Linked DNA regions of Homo sapiens: regions 1, 2, 4, 5 and 6 are each linked to region 3. The links are contacts of gene promoters, found by promoter capture Hi-C in blood cells and fetal thymus (Javierre and others, 2016). All regions are on one chromosome and are shown on one strand. Each heading gives the region's core, a stretch centred on a gene start or on the middle of the fragment in contact. The rest is flanking DNA. Distances are from core to core; before and after follow the strand shown. Region 1 overlaps HBS1L (HBS1 like translational GTPase). Region 2 has its middle 62 kb from the start of ALDH8A1. Region 3 holds the start of SLC2A12 (solute carrier family 2 member 12). Region 4 overlaps LOC101928277 (a long non-coding RNA gene). Region 5 holds the start of ALDH8A1 (aldehyde dehydrogenase 8 family member A1). Region 6 has its middle 36 kb from the start of ALDH8A1.

The links. Contacts are between HindIII fragments. The CHiCAGO score rates a contact against its expected background, and 5 or more counts as called.
Region 1: a fragment that was not itself captured here is called in contact with the fragment with the promoter of SLC2A12 in region 3 in 2 of 17 cell types (neutrophils and M0 macrophages); the score reaches 7.3 in neutrophils.
Region 2: a fragment that was not itself captured here is called in contact with the fragment with the promoter of SLC2A12 in region 3 in 1 of 17 cell types (M0 macrophages); the score reaches 6.5 in M0 macrophages.
Region 4: a contact is called between a fragment that was not itself captured here and the fragment with the promoter of SLC2A12 in region 3, in 1 of 17 cell types (activated CD4 T cells). The highest score is 5.1, in activated CD4 T cells.
Region 5: a contact is called between the fragment with the promoter of ALDH8A1 here and the fragment with the promoter of SLC2A12 in region 3, in 16 of 17 cell types (M2 macrophages, M0 macrophages, total CD4 T cells and 13 more). The highest score is 22.8, in M2 macrophages.
Region 6: a contact is called between a fragment that was not itself captured here and the fragment with the promoter of SLC2A12 in region 3, in 1 of 17 cell types (M2 macrophages). The highest score is 5.1, in M2 macrophages.

The regions. Positions count from the first base shown.
Region 1 is chr6:134,974,495-134,977,866 of GRCh38, forward strand. The region is part of intron 15 of HBS1L (HBS1 like translational GTPase); the gene reads right to left. Among named protein-coding and RNA genes, the nearest start is that of MIR3662, 3.3 kb to the right of the region's middle. The HindIII fragment of the contact is 3,307 bases long and covers 1-3,003 here.
Region 2 is chr6:134,885,913-134,889,373 of GRCh38, forward strand. No RefSeq gene overlaps it. Among named protein-coding and RNA genes, the nearest start is that of ALDH8A1, 62 kb to the right of the region's middle. The HindIII fragment of the contact is 2,041 bases long and covers 699-2,739 here.
Region 3 is chr6:134,051,292-134,054,877 of GRCh38, forward strand. It overlaps SLC2A12 (solute carrier family 2 member 12), which reads right to left and starts at 1,333. Exons shown (of 5, transcript NM_145176.3): 1 at 1,087-1,333. The coding sequence starts at 1,189. The HindIII fragment of the contact is 5,616 bases long and covers 1-3,586 here.
Region 4 is chr6:134,822,937-134,826,324 of GRCh38, forward strand. The region is part of intron 2 of LOC101928277 (a long non-coding RNA gene); the gene reads right to left. Among named protein-coding and RNA genes, the nearest start is that of ALDH8A1, 130 kb to the right of the region's middle. The HindIII fragment of the contact is 1,209 bases long and covers 682-1,890 here.
Region 5 is chr6:134,948,117-134,951,797 of GRCh38, forward strand. ALDH8A1 (aldehyde dehydrogenase 8 family member A1) reads right to left here and starts at 1,985. Exons shown (of 7, transcript NM_022568.4): 1 at 1,800-1,985. The coding sequence starts at 1,937. The HindIII fragment of the contact is 9,755 bases long and covers 73-3,681 here.
Region 6 is chr6:134,912,911-134,916,122 of GRCh38, forward strand. No RefSeq gene overlaps it. Among named protein-coding and RNA genes, the nearest start is that of ALDH8A1, 36 kb to the right of the region's middle. The HindIII fragment of the contact is 1,889 bases long and covers 380-2,268 here.

The DNA of each region.
Region 1 (3,372 bases), core at 100-2,599, 920 kb after region 3:
ATGCAAAAATCCCTAACAAAATACTAGCAAACCAAGTCCAACAGCATATCCAAAAGACATTTTATCATGATCAAGGAGGTTTCCTCCCAAGGATGCAGGAATGGTTCAGCATATGCAAGTCAATAAATGTGATTCACCACTGAAACAATTAAAAGCAAAAAAAAAACAGATGATCATCTCAATAGATGCGGAAAAAGCACTAGATAAAATCCAGGATCCCTTAATGATAAAATGTTCAATAAACTAGGCAAAGAGGAAACATACCTCAAAATAATAAAAGCCACATATGACAAACCCACAGCCAACATCATACTAAATGGGGAAAAGTTGAAAGCATTCCCCCTAAGAACTGAAACAAGACAAGGATGTTCACTCTCATCACTTCTATTAAACACAGTACTGGAAGTCCTAGCCAGAGCAATCAGGCAAGAGAAAGAAATCAAGGGCATCCAAATTGGAAAAGAGTAAGTCAAACTATCTCTGTTTGCCAATGATATAATTACATACCTAAAAAATCCTAAAGATTCCTCCCAAACAACACCTAGATTTGATAAATGAATTCAGTAAAGTCTCAGGTTACAAAATCAATGTACACAAATCAGTAGCACCAACAACGATCAAGCTGAGAATCAAATCAAGAACAAGAACTTAATCCCTTTTACAATAGCTACAAAACCAACCAACCAACCCACCTAGGAATGTACTTAGCCAAGGAGGTGAAAGATCTCTTACAAGGAGAACTACAAAACACAGCTGAAAGAAATCATGGATGACAAATGAACAGAGATACATCCCATGCTCATGAATTGGAAGAATCAATATCATGGAAGAGACCACATTGCCCAATCTACAGATTTGGTGCAAATCCTGTCAAAATACTAACATCATTTTCCACAAGATTAGAAAAAACAATCCTAAAATTCATATGGAACCCAAAAAGAGCCCAATTAGCCAAAGCAGTCCTAAGCAAAAAGAGCAAATCTGGAGGCATCACACTACCCTACTTCAAATTATACTACAGGCTATAATAACCAAAACAGCATGGTACTAGTATAAAGGTAGATTCATAGACCAATGCAACAGAATAGAGAACCCAGAAACAAAGCCAAATACTTAACAACCAACTAATCTTTGACAAGGCATGCAAAAACATAAATTGGGGAAAGGACACCCTATTCAATGGATGGTGCTGGGAAAATGGATGGTGCTGGATAGCTACATATGGAAGAACGAAAACTGGATTCCTATCTCTCACTACATGCAAGAGTTAACTCAAGAGGGACTTGGATCTAGGAACTGAAACCATGGAAATTCTGGAGGAAAACCTGGGAGAGGTTCTTCTGGACATTGGCCTAGGTAAGAATTTATGACTAAGACCCCCAAAGCAGATTCAACGGAAATAAAAATAAATAGATAAGACCTAATTAAGCTAAAGAGCTAGTGCACAGCAAAGAAATCCTGAACATAGTAAACAGACAATCCACAGAATGGAAGAAAATATTTGCAAACTATGCATCTGACAGGACTAGTATCCAGAATCTACAAAAGACTCAAATCAGCAAGAAAAAAAAGCAAACAATTCCATCAGGAAATGGGCAAGTGACATGAGCAGACACTTCTCAAAAGAAGACATACAAATGGCCAAGAAACATATGAAAAAATGCTCAACATCATTAATCATCGAGGAAGTACAAATCAAAGCCACAATGGGATACCACCTTACTCCAGCCAGAATGGCCATTATTAAAAAGTCAAAAAACAATAGATGTTGCCCTGTATGCGATGAAGAAGGGAACACTTGTGCACTGCTGGTAGGAATGTGGATTGGTATAGCCTCTGAGGAAAACAGAACAGAGATTTCTCAAAGAACGAAAAGTAGATCTACCAGTTGATCCAGCAGTCTCACTACTGGGTATCTACCCAAAGGAAAATAAGTCATTATATCAAAAAGATACTTGAATGCATGTTTATCACAGCACAATTTACAGTTGCAAGAATGTGGAACCAACCTAAGTGCCCATCAACCAATGAGTGGATAGAGAAAACGTATATGTACACCATGGAATACTACTCAGCCATACAAGGGTAGAGATAGTGTGTTTTGCAGCAACTTGGATAGGGCTGGAGGATATTATTCTAAGAGAAGTAACTTAGGAATGAAAAACCAAATAGCATATGTGCTTACTTAAAAGTGGGAGCTAAGCTATGGGTACACAAAGACATACAGAACAGTATAGGGGACACTGGAGACTCAGTAGCGGGTAGGGCTTGAAGGGGGTGAGGGATAAGAAACTACATCTTGGGTACAATATACACTACTTGGGTGATGGGTGCACTAAAATCTTAGATTTCACCATTATACAATTTATCCATGTAATCAAAAACCACTAGTTGGTAAAAAGAAGTAAAAAGAAAATTGACAAATAAATAAAAAACAAAGGAAAAAATTACTTGTACCCAAAAGCTACTGAAATAGAGTTTCCCATACAAAATAGGGAAAATTTAAATATATTTATGTAGTATTATGGCATTAGTCCCTAAACAGTAAAATTTTAATAGCTTAGGAAACCTTTGTTTGCTTAAAAAATTTTTTTTCAAGTTTTTCTCCCATAGGGAGTAGACTGACAAAATATGGCCATATTTTTCTGAAACAAATTTGATCCTGGTATTTCTGAATCAATATATGCTGGCAGAATCTCCTAAAGCAACAGTGAAAAACTTGCAATTCATGCTTATTTTTAAGAAACTACAGTAGTCAGGGAGACAGTATTACTATTCAAAGTCACTTCTGACCTCTTCATCCCTCTACCTCTCCATTGGCAAATATTATTATTGCATGAGTAAAAATATGCAGTAACCAACCCCTCCTTTGCCTCATAGGACATACTGCTTTCTGTGAATGAGTTCCATTCGCTCACAACAATTAACTTGTTGTTACTTGATGATCAATACATGAATTCTGAATATTTAAGTATCTTCAACTATAGCAATTTTTTTAAAAGAAGCTTTTCTTTTCTAGTGTATGGAAGAAATGGAATATAATTATGTAAGTAAAGTACCTAAATAGTACCTTAAAATATAATTTTACATGATCAAATTAATATAGAAATAATTACAAAGAATTATAAAGTACAAGGTTATCTCAAATATAGGTGTATCAGTATAAATGACCCAAATAAATGTATTGCCAACCTCTAAACCACTATCACTAACTTTAAAAACTCTTACTTTTATTTCAAAGATGCATCAAATGGTAGAAACATCACTGAGAAACATTTATTGTCATGCAGAATCTGTACTATATGAGCTAATTAGAAAAAAAAGTCTAATGGGAAAAATGGTCATCTGTCACGTGACAAAAGCAAAGTACAA
Region 2 (3,461 bases), core at 469-2,968, 840 kb after region 3:
ATCTCAACACCCGTTTTTCCTCCAAAGGTTAGATCACCACAGCCATTCCAGATTGTCCATTTTGTCAATGTCCTTCTACATACAGGGGCCAGCATTACTGAGCACATTGCCTTAAAAGTGTCCTAAAAATCAGAGTATTGAAGAGGATGATAACATCTCCCTGCTTTGGTTCACAGAGCAGAGCCTGTAAGTGTGCTCAGTCTGTGTCTGTGCAGGACAAGGGGGAGGATCTTTTTATTAGATACTCAAGTAAACAAGGTTACTTCAGTCCTACACTTGTGCACTTAACTGTGCTGAACCTAAATGTGGCATGTTTTTGTTACTCCCTTTAGTGTTTTATTTTTTTGACAGCATTTCAGCCCAGACCTAGCACTAGATCTTGTACCTGGAAAGTATTTAATATTTGGTGGATAAATAAATCAAAGGATATACTTTTTAAATTTACATTCTGTCAGCACATATGTTTACACTTCTTCTCAGTTTCCAAACATTTGAAAATCTGACAGGCATACTATATCAGTTAGGGATGCTTTTGGCAGCAAGTAACAGAAAAATTTGAGCACAAAAACCTAAACACACGAGTTTAATTTTTCTCACATAACAATAAATCTGAGAGTAGGCAGCCCTGGGCTCATGTTGCCAGTGACACCATTAGGGACCACATTTCCTTTCATCTTTCAGATTCATTATCCTTAGCAAGCTTACTTTCATCTTCACGCTTTTTGTCCCTTGGTCTCAAGATGCCTATCTCACCTACAGACATCACACGCACATTTCGGCCAAGAACCAAGGGAAAGGGCAAAGGGACAAATTCCATGCCAGCTGGGTCTGTCCCCTTTGTATCAGAAAAGTAAGAACTTTCCCAGAAGTGTCACTAGCCATACTTTCTTTTGCATCTTATCAGCCAGAACTGGATCACGCAGTCATCCTTAGACTAATGACTGGCCAAGAGGAATAACTGGCTTAGAATTACTATTAATTCCCAGGGACTAAGGGTGGGCCCTTCCTCCCTGAAACAAAAGGACTTCTGCTACTACCCAAATAAATTTAAGTTCTGTTAGCAGGAAAGGAGGGATATGAATATTGGGTCAATAAAGACAAGTACCTAGCACACATGCCTTCCACAATGTATATTTAGATAAGCAAGTCTTTGTGTGACTTCATTCAAGGTCATCAAAATCATGTCACTAATACAGAATTTAATAGAAGACCCTGGAAATGACTTGTTTTCCTCCCCGTTGAGGTTATTAATTATCCACCATGAACCTAGAATAGGAACTTTTAAAAACCTTAAAATGTGCACAAGTGTTCCAATTTAGAATTTTAGGCCTGGCTACTGTATTAGTCCGTTCTCATGCTGCTAATAAAGACCTACCTGAGACTGCGTAATTTATAAAGGAAAGAGGTTTAATGGATTGATGGTTCCACATGGCTGAGAAGGCTTCACAATCATGGCAGAAGACAAATGAAGAGCAAAGGGACGTCTTACATGGTGGGAGGCAAAGAGCACGTGTGCAGGGGAACTGCCCTTTATAAAACCATCACATCTCCTGAGATGTATTCACTATCATGAGAACAGCACGGGAAAGACCCATCCCCATGATTCAGTTACCTCCCACCAGGTCCCTCCTATGGCACGTGGGTATTATCAAAATTCAAGGTGAGATATGGGTGGGGACACAGCCAAACCAAATCAGCTACTTTGATATTCTACCAACACCCAACACTTCATTTCTTCACCTTATGCTCTGTGTCTGTCTACCATAAGAATCTGAGTTTGTTGGCTGGGTGCAGTGGCTCATGCCTGTAATCCCAACACTCTGGGAGGCCGAGGCAGGCAGATCACGAGGTCAGGAGATCAATACCATCCTGGCTAACATGGTGAAACCCTGTCTCTACTAAAAATACAAAAAATTAGCCGGGCGTGGTGGCACACGGGAGGCTGAGGCAGAAGAATCACTTGAACCCGGGAGGCAGATGTTGCAGTGAGCCGAGATCGTGCCACTGCACTCCAGCCTGGGTGACAGAGTGAGACTCATCTCAAAAAAAAAAAAAAACAAAGAATCTGAGTTTGTTTAGGGTAATGATTATGTCTTACCCATGTCCAGACATCACCAACACCTAGCACAACAGTTAGCATGAGCTCAATGAATATTTATTTTTAAAATAAAGTCCAAGTTATTGATGGATTAGATAGTATTATAACATGAATGTTCTATTCTCATTAGAAAGACTGTCTTGGAAATACATTTTTTGGTGCTACTAACATTTCAGCAAGTTGGTTTTCTTCTTGTGTGTATCTACTATGGAAGCTATACATGCAATGCATACTTAAGAGTCAATACACTTGTACTTCTATACAATGAAATATGACTCGGCAAGATAAAGGAACAAACTACGGATATGCACCATGATGTGGATGAATCTCAAAAGCATTATACTCAGTGAAAGATGCCAGGCAGAAGAGGCTACATGTGCTGGGACTCTATTTATATGAAATATCCACAAAAGGCAAGCTATAAAGATAGAAAGTAGATTCGTGGTTGCTAGGGACAGGGGATAATGGAAATTAGCAGTAAATGTGCATGAGGGATGGAATTGGCATGATGAAAATGTGCTAAAACAGATTTATGGTGATGGTTGCACAACTTGGTACATTTGCTAAAAAAAATCACTTGAAAAGAGTGATGTGCAAAATATGCTCTGATAACCATTTTAAAATCAGTTTAGGACTCTGGAAGCTTTCTGGCATTCTTAAGACAGACCAGCACCTATCTGCATAACGTTCCGAGTAGACATGAGCATCCTTCACAGGAGGGCAGTTTTCAAATGCGAGAACACAGAGGCATTCGAGGAGCATATTACCCCCAGATAAATTTTTGTTTGACATAGGGTCTCACTATATTGCCCAAGCTGGCCTCAAACTCCTGTGCTCAAGTTATCATCTCACTTGTGCCTTAGTCTCCCAGATAGCTGGGACTACAGGTGTGGACCACCATGCCCATTTCCCCCCAGATAAGTCTTTAATGGAGCCTCCAATACACCGAGATTAAAGTTTCCAACATCGGCACTGGCAAAACTATAAAGGCTTCTTCTCCACAAGACCCATAGGAGATGCTCCCTGGGTTTACATGCCCTTCCCCACGACAGACCTTCACATCAGCGCTGCAACTGGATTCAAGTGTCAGATGTGCTAGTTAATGCTGTGGGTCCCAAAGGAATGAGACGTGTAATTCTGACTAATTTCGACTGAAGATAAGTGCAATGTCTATACAAACAAAAACAACAATAAAAAGATCTTTTACTGTGTCAAACATGACTACTGCTTAGTGTACCTCTTACTTGTTTGTTATAAGTATGCTTTAAGTCTCTCTCCTTTTTCCATTTCCCACTTTGAGTTCCTCTAGAAGGACTCCCTTCTGTTACTCTTTATACATGCACTGCCTCACAGAGGAGGTAGA
Region 3 (3,586 bases), core at 83-2,582:
ACTCCTGAAGAGGGCCGCTTCATGCCTCGATGTTAGGGGTCACAGGTTCGATTCCCCAAGATCAGACAAACCCACAAGGCAAACGTCAGTATTAGGACCATTCCCAAGAGAAAGGCAGATGTCTTTTGTATCATTTAGTGTATTGGATTTTGCATGAAATTTCTATATGCTGCTTGGGAATGTAATATCTGATTAAGAATACACAGCTGAGGAAAGTAGTAGGAAAGAGAAGATTTTTTGTGTTTGTTGTCATTTCATATTACAATTACTTTCTATTCCTTGCAGCACAAACTAAATGAGCAGGAAGAGGCAGCAAAAAGCGTACAATGTATTTGTGGGAATTGTAAATGTGGAAGTGAAGACCAGCCTCTGATTTATCAAAGATCATTAAATGAATTAAAACTTTTCCAAATTTCACCTTCAGAAGGTCATCATAGCAAACAAACCTCAGTTTGCAAGGCCAGTTTTAAAGAAGGCAGAACCCAGCAAAGCAAGCGTTTCAGGCTCTGAATAACGCTCAAATTCATCACAAACGTGCTGGGAATTTAAAAAGGAAGTTTGTGTTCTCATTGATTACATAACTAATAATTTTATGAAGCCTGTTTAAAATACTGATTTTTAAAACAGTGGTTATAATGTCAACTGGTTACACAGTGTCCATTTGTGACAATAAATGAAAAAGTGTAAGCAAGCGTGTGCTTGTGTGTGTTTACAAATGAGACTATCTTTGCCAGTGGACCGTTCCAATATGAAAAACATCCATACATTGTATTATGTAAACACAATCAAGGGGACCCATCATACCAGTGGTGGATGTGTAACCTGTATTTTCTTGGCACATAAGGTTCCACCAAGACTTCGATCTTCACAACATTACAGCTCCGAGCTGTCCCACGTCCCACCAGACCCTGTCCCCTTCTCTCCACTCATCCAGCGCGCCCACATGCGCGCGCGCGCATACACACACACACACACACACACACACACACACACACACACACACACGGGACTCAAGAGACAGTACACTCGGGAGATGAGTACAGCTTGCTTCTCTGCGGTCACCCGAGCACTGCAGGCTCACTTTACCTCTCGCCCAGGGAGGATGCCGGCTGCCGCTGCCCTCCGTCTCCACGGCTGTCCCCTTCTGGTTCAGCAGACTGGGGCCCTCGGTGTTTTCAACAGGTACCATGGTCACGTAGAAGTTACAGCCGCTTCCCCGCCACCAAACCGCCCCGACCACCCCCGCTCCCAGGAGTGGTCACTTTCCCCATAATAGCATGCTAAAGAAGAGTGTGGGGAAAAACTTCGGGCAAAGCTAATGTGATTTGTGACCAACTTTGTTTCTATTTCCGAAGGCTTTGCCCTTTTCGGTGACACAGGCTGTTGCTATTCCAAGCAGCCTATCACAGGCAGGGGGAGGGCCGTGAGTCAGAGGATTGTTTTTGCCTTTAGATGCAGAGTTGGAAGCAAGGGGTTAAAAGAAAGGGAACTCAGACGGAGTGTTTGGCCATTAGCTAAGGGTAGCTCTTGTATTCTAGCACCTTTGAAAAGAGGCAGAGAAAGGAAACATGCAGATTTAAATGCAAGCTGAGAGTGGGGATAGAATACTCACAGATGGTATCAGTTAATCTTGCAGAAAGAGGAACAATTTATGCAAAGACATACCAGAAGGAAAAGTGTGTCAATTTTTCAGCAAGACTGTTATTCCAAAAGTCATGGTATTTACCAGCTTACACAAAGCATAAAATACCTTTATTGTTTCAACCTGATTTTGGTCTAGGTAAAGGCCTATATCTTTCTCTCCAAGGCCTTTCAGATAAATCACAGCCTGAGACCAAAAATACACAAACTCAGAATGCACAGATTCTTTAGACTTTTTATATGCTGAGGTTATAGCAAAGTAATCCATTTCTTAATGCAGAATTGTCTTTAAGAGACAAATTAACACTGAATCCTCTGTTAGGTTTCATGTTTGCGTAGGTAGGAGGAGGATACTCCTCACTCAGAGAGGCCAGACTAAGTGGCCCATTGTGTGCGTGTGGTGGACATGTAATCTCAAACAAAATCAGGTCATGAGAGAGGATCTTTTTCTGATTTGTGAACATATTTATAAAAAAGTCTTACAGGGTTATGACATTTTACCTTCAGTTATTCATTCAACAAATCATGTTTATTAAAAAAAAAAGCCTTATAGAGGAAATTGAGATCATCTTAAAAATCATTTGGAATAAAAACTAACATGTGTGGAGCACTTATGTGCCAGAAATTGTGCTAAGCGCAATAACGCAGATGATGACTTTGAGGCAGGTACCAACATTATAGAAGAGGAAATGGAGGTTGGGTAACTTGGCTACAGTCTCACAGCTAATCAGTGGTAGAGCTGAGATTATGAATCCAGGAGGTCTAAAGCTGTAACTCTCCTATATTCTAACTTCCCAGCCTTGTCCTTCTCTAATTTTCTTGGCTTCCTATGGTTTCAGACCTACTCGACTTTAAGAAGATGCCGTGAAATATGGCTTTTAGTCATAGGCATTTCTCTGGACAGAAAAACAAATTTGTGCTTGTATAAGCAGAAGCTAAATTTTTGTTACTTCTTTTCAACATTTTAACTGAATCACTTCAAAGTTCTAAATTCACTTATTTGTACATTTCCTTTGCTTGTCATTAAATAATTCTATATTTTTCTTATCTTTCAGGGAAACAGGTAGCAAATGGAAACAAACCTATAATAATTCAACTAGTCTTTATTATGTACCCGTTGTATGTCTGCTGATAGTGCTAGAAAATGGAAGTCCTCCAGGCATAATCCAGGCCCCTTATGATTAAGAGGGTGAGAAGTTCAGAATCCCACACATCAGTGTCCCCACTAAAGAATGTGTAACGCAACCATGGTTTGAAACAACTCATTTTATTTGTTCCCAGGGTGCATTATAATTATATAGGAGTCCCAGTTTCTATCTGTGAGACACATATGTTTCCCATAAGTTCTCTATATTCTCTTGGCTTCTAACTTCTTTCTGCTCAGAACCAATGACCTCATTAGGGGGAAAATGTTCTTGCAATGGGTTAGTTGTATCATTGCTTTGTTTCGTGATCCCACAACCTGTGTTTCTAGCAGCTTCTTGGCCCCATGGGAGTGTTAGAGTGTTTGCTATAGTGCTTGACTAGACAGAAGACAAAACTAATTCCAGAATACTTTACTATGGTTAAAAGCAGTTCAACAGTTCTCACTCTGTTTTGTGTAGCCAAACCATACAGGAGATCCACAGGCATAGTAAGCCAACCAGGAGTCAAAAAGAATGCTCAGCAATGCAACTGACAACATCACCTCCTGGTGCTCCTAATTCTGTTCTTTATTCTGCTGGTGACCTGACCGGGGCCACTGGCTATCTCAAGCTCTGTTTGTACTTACCTCAATCTCTTAACTCAGAGAAAAGTTTAGGGGAGAAAATTTTTTTCACCCAGACTAGAGGGGGGAAACTCTGCCTCAATTCTGTTACGAACCCTGTACTTCTCCTTCCCAGCCTTTTGCACACCATAATGTATTTAATACAGTTAAATGCGGTGATTCAATTAAATCTGCCTT
Region 4 (3,388 bases), core at 36-2,535, 770 kb after region 3:
CTCAGGGAATCTTGGAGGTCTGTTCCTTCCAGGCCTCATTCCAGGGAGGGGCAGATTTGGAACTAGAGCCCAGGCCTCCAGGCTCTCACGCCTCTGTGGTCCGTGGTCCGTGGTCCGGGGCTTAGGTTGGCCGGTAGGGGTAGGGTAATAAATCTCATTCGCCAAATGAGGAAACAGCGTCATCTAGTGGAAATTTATCAGCGTATTCTAGACATGCTGTTATCCCTAGCTCTGCTGTCCCTAATTTCCCAAGACAACATTTCTGGACCATTTTCTCTCCCCCATGTTTCCAAAGCCCAAGAATCTCCCAGTGGGGCCCCCTCCTACAACCTCCTCACCCCACAGCATATTTCAGTCTCTTCTCTGCCAAACTTTCCAACATAGCCCCAGGAATCAATCATTTGCCTCAAGGGCCACCGGGGCTGTTGTCCTTTGAGTGTTTTTTGTTTCAAGTTTTCATCAAAATAACCCTGTTAACCACGGCTTCAGGCCTTTACCAAATGGTGTGGCAAATCAATTCCATCATTTATGAAGATCCAGATAGATACTGCTTTTCATTCAGCCACACTGAGATGATCCTTGTTTTTCCCCTGCTACCATCAAGTTAGGACACTTTGGTTGCTTTTGAAATAATTCATCAGGGAATTTCCCAGGACAGTTCTGTGACCAAGCATGTGGACAAGCTTCAGTCAAAACTTAGGAGGTATTAAATAGAAAACAAAACATGTAACAAGTAATTATCCCATATGATAAATGTTCCATTATGAGAAAGCACAAAGGGAAGGGGGAAATTCATTCTGCTGAGGTTAGAAAAAGCTGCATGCAAGAGGAAACACTAGATCTGAGTTTTGAAGGAGATAGATGGGCCTTTGATTTCTAAAGAAATGGGTGTGGTATGCTAGGCAGGGGGAACAGCAGAAGCAAAGGTCAGGAGTCCTGAGAGTACAGCATGTGATAAAGGATCAGGGCCCAAGAAGATGGGTGGGAAGTGATGTGGAAGGCAGTTCAGGACTGGAACAGAAAGATGCTTAGATGCCATCGCAGAAAACTTTTTTTTTTTTTTTTGAGACGGAGTCCCACTCTGTCACCCAGGCAGGAGTGCAATGGTGCGATCTCAGCTCACTGCCACCTCTGCCTCCCAGTTTCAAGCGATTTTCCTGCCTCAGCCTCCTGAGTAGCTGGGATTACAGGCACACACTACCACGCCCAGCTAATTTTTGTATTTTTAGTAGAGATGGAGTTTCACCATGTTGGTCAGACTGGTCTCAAACTCCTGACCTCATGATCCGCCCACCTTGGCCTCCCAAATTGCTGGGATTACAGGTGTGAGCCACCACGCCTGGCCGAAAACTTGGATTTTAGATGCAATTAGACACTATCAAATTATGGGCCACAGCAAAAAAACTGTGTTTGAAGTCTCCAGGTAATAAAGTACTTTATTCATCCCAGCTGTTTTGAAGCTACTTTCTACATAAAATGGTTCCCTTATTTCATGGCTTGTGAAACAGGCTCTGAAAATGAATTATTTGTCAATGCAGGGACAGGAACTCAGATCTGTTGGCTCCCAGTCCATTTCTTCATAGTAAAGAGCTAAGAGCATGAAATGCTTATTAGAATAATTAAAAATTTTTAAATTAGAAAATCTTGTAGGTCTTCCTCTGATTTTTGTTCCTGTATAAATCCTCTAAAAGTATTAAATATATGTAATTGTCTTTTAATCATATCCCCCCATCCAATCCGAGTCTGCTATATAAATGAGAAAATAATCCAATAGGCAATCTATTTGAAAGCACTAATACGAGAAACAGAAAATTTTCAGACTAAAAGAGATGATAAAAGAGGCAAATGTAAACCACCATGGACTGAAGAATACAACATGAGAGAAGCAAAAGCTTTGTAAAGATTTCTAGGAAATTCTGATTCCATTGGTTTCATGAGGACATCAATCACACTGATGTTGTTACCGAAACACCAAGGGTTCAGTCTAGGTCCTGCTGCTGGCTGCACAGAAAACCAATCACTGAGATGATGACATGCCAAGGAAGAAGGCTTTAATTGGGTGCTACATCCTAGAAGATGGGGGCTCAGTCTCAAATCCATTTCCCTGGCCAGGCATGGTGGCTCATGCCTGTAATCTCAACACTTTAAGAGGCTGAGGCAGGCAGATTGCCTGAGGTCAGGAGCTTGAGACCAGCCTGGCCAACATGGTAAACCCCATCTCTACTAAAAATACAAAAATTAGCTGGGCATGGTAGCACACACCTGTAGTCCCAGCTACTTGGAAGGCTGAGGCAGGAGAATAGCTTGAACCTGGGAGGCGGAAGTTGCAGTGAGCTGAGATTGCACCACTGCACTCCAGCCTGGGTGACAGAACAAGACTCCATCTCAAAAAAAAAAAAAAAAATCCATTTCCCTTATCAACTGAAACGTGGGTTTATATAGCAGGGAGAAAAATGTAACAATGTGTAAGAAAACAGGAACTAGGGAGGGGCAAAGAAGAAATCATGACGAATGAGGGGTCAGGCATCTCATTGTCTGGATCTGGTGACTTCGTGAATTTCAGTCCTTTGATACTTTTTTTGAGAGGTATGAAAGTCCTTTCATAAGAAAGGAACTCAGATAAAACGAATATTAGTTTCAAGCTTTAAGACTAGAAAGGTCAATTTCTATGTTTATCAAAAAGAACTGTCTATGGGACCATTGGGTCAGTTTTTTTGTTTTGCTTTGTTTTGTTTTTTGAGACGGAGTCTTGCTCTGTCACCCAGGCTGGAGTGCAGTGGTGAGCTCTCCGCTCACTGCAAGCTCTGCCTCCCAGGTTCATGCCATTCCCTGGCCTCAACCTCCCGAGTAGCTGGGACTACAGGCACCCGCCACCACACCTGGCTAATTTTTTTTTTTTTTTTTTTTTAAGCAGAGATGGGGTTTCACCATGTTAGCCAGGAAGGTCTCAATCTCCTGACCTCGTGATCCACACGCCTCGGCCTCCCAAAGTGCTGGGATTTTAGGCGTGAGCCACTGCGCCCGGCCAGGGTCGGTTTTGATGTCAGAAAAGGATAGTACGTAGATGTCATTAAAAGACAATCATGGCAACCAACTCTAACTTGGTTATTTAGAGGCCAGCATTTCTTTCTTTCTTTCTTTCTTTTTTGAGATGGAATCTCGCTCTGTCTCCAGGCTGGAGTGCAGTGGTGCGATCTTGGCTCACTACAACCTCTGCCTCTGGGTTCAAGTGATTCTCCTGCCTCAGCCTCCCGAGTAGCTGGGACTACAGGTGTGCCACCACACCCAGCTAATTGTTGTATTTTTAGTAGAGACAGGGTTTCACCATGTTGGCCAGGATGGTCTCAATCTCTTGACCTCATGATCCACCCACCTCAGCCACCTGAAG
Region 5 (3,681 bases), core at 735-3,234, 900 kb after region 3:
GAGGATATTACGTTAAGTGAAGTAAGCAAGGCACAAAAATACAAATATTACATGTTCTCACTCATATGTGGAAGCTTAAAAAAGTTGATCTCATGGAGGTAGAGAGTACAATTATGGTTACCAGAGGCTGGGAAGGGTAGAGGAGAGGATAGAGGTTGGCTAATTAATACAAAAATATGGTTAAAAGGAATAAGTTCTAGTAGAGTGACAATAGTTAACAATAATTTATTGTATATTTCACAATAGTTAGAAGAAAAGATTTGGAATGTTCCCAACACCAAGAAATGATAAATGTTTAATGTGATGGAGATCCTAATTACCCTGATTTGATCATGACACATTGTATGCATGTATCAAAATGTCACATATGCCCATAAAGATGTACAATTATTATGTATCAATTTTTTAATTTTTTGTTAAAAAAGGGCTTAATGACTGCAAAGCACAAAGCAAAAGTTGAATAAACGGGAGCCACTGTTAGCAGCACCAGCAACATTTTCCTGAGTGATGTTTTGGAAATTGGACATGCAGTTTGTATGGTAACCATATTTTTCAAGCCGGAAAAAACTATGACTTATGGGATCAGATAGGATATTTGGAAGTTGGATTGCTGAGAAACTGAACATATCTATTACTCTACTAGCTAGCGCATCCATAGCTCATTCTATTTTCTAAAAAGTTATGAGCCATTAGCTGCAGGAAATATTTCAGCTGAATTTGGCATGTTTGTCATTTTTAACTTCACTTTGGCAAACAAGGAAGAGTGGAAAACACAAAGCTGGATTTCCCAGAGCTGTGTTAAGTCATTTGAAGCAAACAAAATTGCAGTTTATAATTTAACCAATGCATTAACCAACATTTGCAAACATTAATCCCTAAGTCTGAAGGTTTACTTTAAATGCAAGACAGATTTGAAGTATTAACAAAAAAGAAAAAAAATAGCAATGTTCTTAAAAAAAAACTTTGCATGGAATATATATTTTTATAGGAAGACTATATTTTAAATAATCTAGTTATTTGTGCCTTAAAAAGAATAAATTATAATTCATAAGGCATTAGATGACTATATATACATCAGCTACATTTACCACTTCAGATATATTTACATTCTCAGTGCAATAATTGATAGCTAATCAAATATATCTCAAATATTTTACAAAATTCTCCAAGTAAAATTAATTCTACATCACCAAAAAAATGTAATGCATATGCCATTAAACACTTTGGATAAGAAAAAAGACGCTGTTAAATCTAACTCCAAAAATATATGGGAATTTGATTTTGAGTTTCATCATTCAAATGATTGATTTTATTTTACTAGGTATTTTGAAGACATGACAAATTATGAGAAGACAATCTAAAACAAAGCCCACAGTTTTTTGCTTGTTTGTTTATTTTAGTAAAGCTATACTTTTTTTTTAATTCCATGGATATAGTGGTAAATTTAAGCAGTGCGTGGTGGAGAAAAGGGAATATTTAACAAAGTGATAGCTCTTACAAATAATACTTTGTACTAGACACTGATTAGGAAATGTTTGAGAATTGCAAAAAAAAACTGCACACAGGGCTGTGTTAGGTTGGCTAGAAAAATGACTTACTTTCTGCATATAGGAAGAGATTTGTTCTAGGTATCATACAGTCCAGTTACAAGGTACATCTTCTGAGAACTAGAATCTTCCTTCTATCATGTTTAACAATCCTACATCTTCCCCCAACTCCCTCTGCTTTTAGAAAACTGTTACCCATAATTGGCCAACATATTAAACACATTTCAGTCTTCTTTAAGTGCATATACTCACCTCGTCTTTTCCACTATTTGGCACTCTGCAATACACTTCCCCTGTTGATGGGTCGTAAGAATCTATATATGAGCTACAAGGTAAAAATTTTCCATCTATGAAGTTTTCCAGCATCAAAAGTGCGTTTGTTCCAGCCATAGCAAGGAAAAATTCTGCCTTTCCTCTTTACGACTGAGCACTCAGGTTGTCCCCACCACTGTCTGGACTCCTGAGTGAGCCTCCCCCTTCCCAGCCCCCATCTTCCCCTTTACCAATCAGTGAATGTGGGAGGGCACCTGACGCTCTCAGAGAGCATTCCAGTCTCCAAACTCAGAACTAAGAGAGTGGCTGAATGTTTCACAGACTTCTAGTACATTACCTGACATGGATAATTGTGTGTAAAAGTAACAGCTACTTACTTATGTGTTCATAGCCCTTTAAATCATCAGAAGGCATCTGTGCATGTGATTTTATTGGGTTCACACCGTAAACTGTTCATTGCTCAAACACTGATTGGATGCCAGGCCCCAAAGCAAGTCCTTTACATGAATTTACTCGTTTATTCCACACAACAATCCTATATGAAGTAACCATTACTTCCTCTCTTTTATAGAAGAAACTGAGCCTTGGAGAGGTTAGACCATTTTTCCAAGGTCACATAGTTAGCAGGGGATGAACTGTAGCCCTTTAATCTCCAAATCATATACTTTTTCCTCAATGCATCACTGCTTACCCTGCAGAGGTAACTGAAGACAGATGCCCTCTTTCCGTGGCTCATCTGTGTTTCTTTACCTTGGCTGCCCTCTCTTGGAAGAGCTGTCTCTCCATCCCAAAACCGGGGCCACAGTGGCTGCTCACATCTTCCTAGATGTGCCATGGAGATAAAGACAAGCCAAAAACATGTGTGACACATATAGCAAGGGCTTCAGATCCCTGATGTAGCTGAGAATTTCTACAAATTGGTAAGAGAAATGAGCACCCCAACAGAAAAGATAAGCAAAGATACAAAAAAGCAATCCATAGGAAAAGGAACACAATTGGCTAATGAATATATTAACAATGTTCAGCCTTGTTGTTAAGCAAGGAATGTGAAATACAGAGGTGGCCTGATTTGCCAATCATACTGGAGAGCATTTTTAAAGATTGAGAACATCTACTCTGTGAGGATGTGGAGAATCATCCCTAGTCCATAGGCGGGAGGGTTCACAGAACACTGCTTGGGGCAATTTGTCAGGGTCTGGTCAATTTCTCTTCTAGGAATCTCTCCTACAGAATTACGTGCTCATGAACAAGTACATAAGTCACAGGACATCCTTTTTTATCATAATTTAAAAATCAAAACAACCTAAAGTCCATCAATTGGAGAATATTAGAGTATAATTGTTATATTCTTAACAGGGAATACTACTTAGACATTAGAAGGATGCATTGTTAAGTGAAAAAATAAAACTAGTGAATAATATATACAGCATAGTTTCTTTGGCTATTTACATGGTTGACAGGAAGCCGTTTTAAACTGCTTGGATATTTTATGGCAAGCCTATATTACTTTTATAATTATGATTTATAGTTATAATTCAGTTGAAGGTTAGGTACCAATATTCTAAAATTCATTGATCACATGAGGGCACTTGCTGGCCGTGCACCTCCTTAGGCCCTCTCTGCTTCCATCTTTATTGGTCTCTAGATATTCTCCAAAATTCTTGCTGAGACTTCTGACAAGCATGGTGTGGCTGATTCTGGGAGGCCCAGAGCAGCTGGAGTCTGGAGCTGGCGCCGTTGCCTGTCGCTGGAGAGTCGCTGACAGGGACTGGAGACAGAAGGTAGTCTCAGGCTTTTTCTGGTGCTGCCCACGGTCAGGTCAGCTGGAAACAGAATGAGAGAAATACGCAGGTCCCAGCCC
Region 6 (3,212 bases), core at 74-2,573, 860 kb after region 3:
TGTCCTAACTTGAGCCAACAGCTTTCTAGGCCTCTTTTTAAATATCTAACAACTTAAAATTAATTTTCATTTCATTTTTCAGGCAGTTCTTCTATTTATTTGAATTCTTGTTTCTTTTTGCTGCATTACATCCCCAAGTCATACCAGAAAGGATGAAACCTTCGAGATAGGGAGAAACTTTTCGAGTCATTAAATATCTTATTGTGCCTTCATTCGTGAATAAGAGTTTGGCTGCCTATAAATTTAGGTTCAAAATAATTTTCCTTGAGAACTTTGAAGTTTTGCTCCTCTGTCTTTTAGCATCAATGTTACTAATGAAAATAGTGATGATAATCTTATATGCTTTTTTGTGGTAGGTATCCTGTTGATTCACTCTGTAAGCTTTACACTAGGAATTTTTATTTTTATTTTTGATATTTTGAGACAGGGTCTCACTACATTGGCCAGGCTGGTCTCGAACTTCTTGCCGCAAGATATCCTCCTGCCTTGGCCTCCCAAAGTGCTGGGATTACAGGTGTGAGCCACTGCACCCAGCCTACACTAGGAATTTCAAATTTTCAACAGAGTATTTCTTGAAACATGGTATTTTCCATCTAAAAAGAGTGTCTTTGGTTCAGAGAAATTTTCTTTTTCTATTTATTTGATTTTTTCCCCCTTTTTGTCTTTTTTTTTTTTTTTCAATACATTTGGGGGAACAGGTGGTGTTTGGTTACATGGATACGTTCTTTAGTGGTGATTTGTGAGATTTTGGGGCGCCCATCACCCGAGCAGTGGACACTGTACCCAACGTCTTTCATCCCTATGCCCCGCCCACCCTGCCCGCCAGGGAACTCAGAGTCCGTTATATCATTCTTCTGCCTTTGTGTCCTCATAGCATAGCTTAGCTCCCACTTGTAAGTGAGAACATAATGATGTTTGGTTTTCCATTCCTGAGTTACTTCACTTAGAATAATGGTCTCCAACTCCATCCAGGTTGCTGCAAATGCTGTTATTTCATTCCTTTTTATGGCTGAGTAGTATTCCATGGTATATGTATATATACACATATATAATATATATACATACACACACATACATATATACACACATACATACATTTTCTTTATCCGCTTGTTGGTTAATGGACATTTAGGCTGATTCCATATTTTTGTCTTTGTTTTTACATTTTGAATTAGTTACATATTAATAGCTCTCTGGATCTATCCTGCATCTCACCAACTCTCTTATATTTTTCCTTTTCTGTCATTCTCTACATCCTGAGCTATTTTCTCAACTTTATCTTCCAGACTACTAATTTGTTTTCAGCCATATCAATGACTCAATTCTATAAATTTTAAAAATTTAATTGGAGAATCAGTGTTTAATTTCTCAAGACCTCTTTTATGTTGTTTGCTTGCTCCTTTTTCATAGAAGCCTGTTCTTATTTATAAATGCGCTATCCCCTCACATCTTTCTGAGGGGACTCATTCAACTTTTTAGTGTCTCCGCTCCTTCTTTTATCTGTTTCTACCACAGTAAGTTGCTCTTTCACACATCTTGATATTTTTCTTTTACCGAAAATTTAATAATCCTTGGTTGCTTGGTAATTTTTTTTTTTTTTTGCGGGGGACAGAGTCTCGCAATTCTCCTGCCTTGGCCTCCCAATTAGCTGGGCGTATGCCACCACACCCAGCTAATTTTTTGTATTTTTAGTAGAGATGGGGTTTCACTGTGTTGGCCAGGCTGGTCTCAAACTCCTGACCTCAGGTGATCCACCCACCTCAGCCTCCCAAAGTGCTGGGATTAAAGGCATGAGCCACTGCGCCTGGCCAGTAATTTTTTTAATAAAAACGGTATTGTTGACTGGGCGCGGTGGCTCATGCCTGTAATCCCAACACTTTGGGAAACCGAGGCAGATGGCTCATTTGAGGTCAGGAGTCTGAGATCAGCCTGGCCAACATGGGGAAACCCCGTCTCTACTAAAAATACAATAATTAGCCAGACGTGATGGCGGTTGCCCGTAATCCCAGATACCCAGGAGGCTGAGGCTCAAGAATGGCTTTAAGCCAAGAGGTGGAGATTGCAGTGAGCCAAGATTGTGCCACTGCACTCCAGCCTGAGTGACAGAGCAAGAGTCTGACTCAAAAAAAAAAAAAAAGGACAAAAAAAAATGATATGTTGATTGGCATGGGTAATTGACAAAGTTATTTTTTGCAATTTGGAAAAACAGTTTACCCATAAGACCCATTGCTGAATGGGGGACTAAATCCCCATTTTCTGAAGAAAAGAAGCTTCTTTTTAAGACGTGTGGAGAGTTCATCTTGCACCCTCATTAACTACCAGGGAGGAGGACTTTGCCTTGGGTGGTGAAATTTGGCAGTGCATCTCACTCCAAGATGGGGCTGCCTTTCCCTTCCTCCTCCCCAGCATTGCACGGAAGGTCCTGAGCTATCTCAGGCTTTGTGCCTGGAGCTCCATTAGAGGCATTCCTGGGAAGTTCTTCTACTCTAGTGTCTCCAGCAGGGAGCAAATGTAGCCAGCTTCTCCTGAAACCTAGGAAGAGGAGAGGAGGCACCTGTCTTCTAATCAGTGTCTTCTAATTCTTCGACACTCCAAGTGCAATCTCAGGTCCCACCGCAGAACTACTGAATCCAAATCTGTATTTTAACAGAGTCCCTGGTGTTTCAGGAGCACTTCCGAGTCTAAGAAGCACTACTCTTCAGCTGCTGTCCATCCTTGAGCCTCAAGCTTGGGACCTCTGGGCTCTGCCAGGAGGTGTCTCTCCCATCTTTTCTCAGCTTCTCCTCTCAGCCTGTTCCTGGCTGTCCCTTCAATATGATCCACTTTCCTTTTTTGGTATATAAATAATTCTGCCTTATGAAATAATATAGTGAACACTTATGTGCCCATCAACTGGCTTAAAAAATAAAGCCCTTGTGGACACCCTCACCCCAATTCTCTCTATTGTTAGTTCTGAGCACAGTATGGCAGGGGTGTGGAAGCCCCAAGCCAGGATACACCAGTCCTATGGGACTCTGCTGCAGTGTAGGCACAGAATGGAGTGGTGCCTCAGCTGCTGTGGGGACCTGAGACTGCATGGATGGCCTGGGAGGAGTTCAGTCTCGGATCCATACTCACTCACTTGAAGCGGGTGGAACAAAACTAGGAAAGTTCTAGCTCCACTGCTAAGATTCAGACAATGTTATAACAACTGAGAGATGGAATAGTGTTGG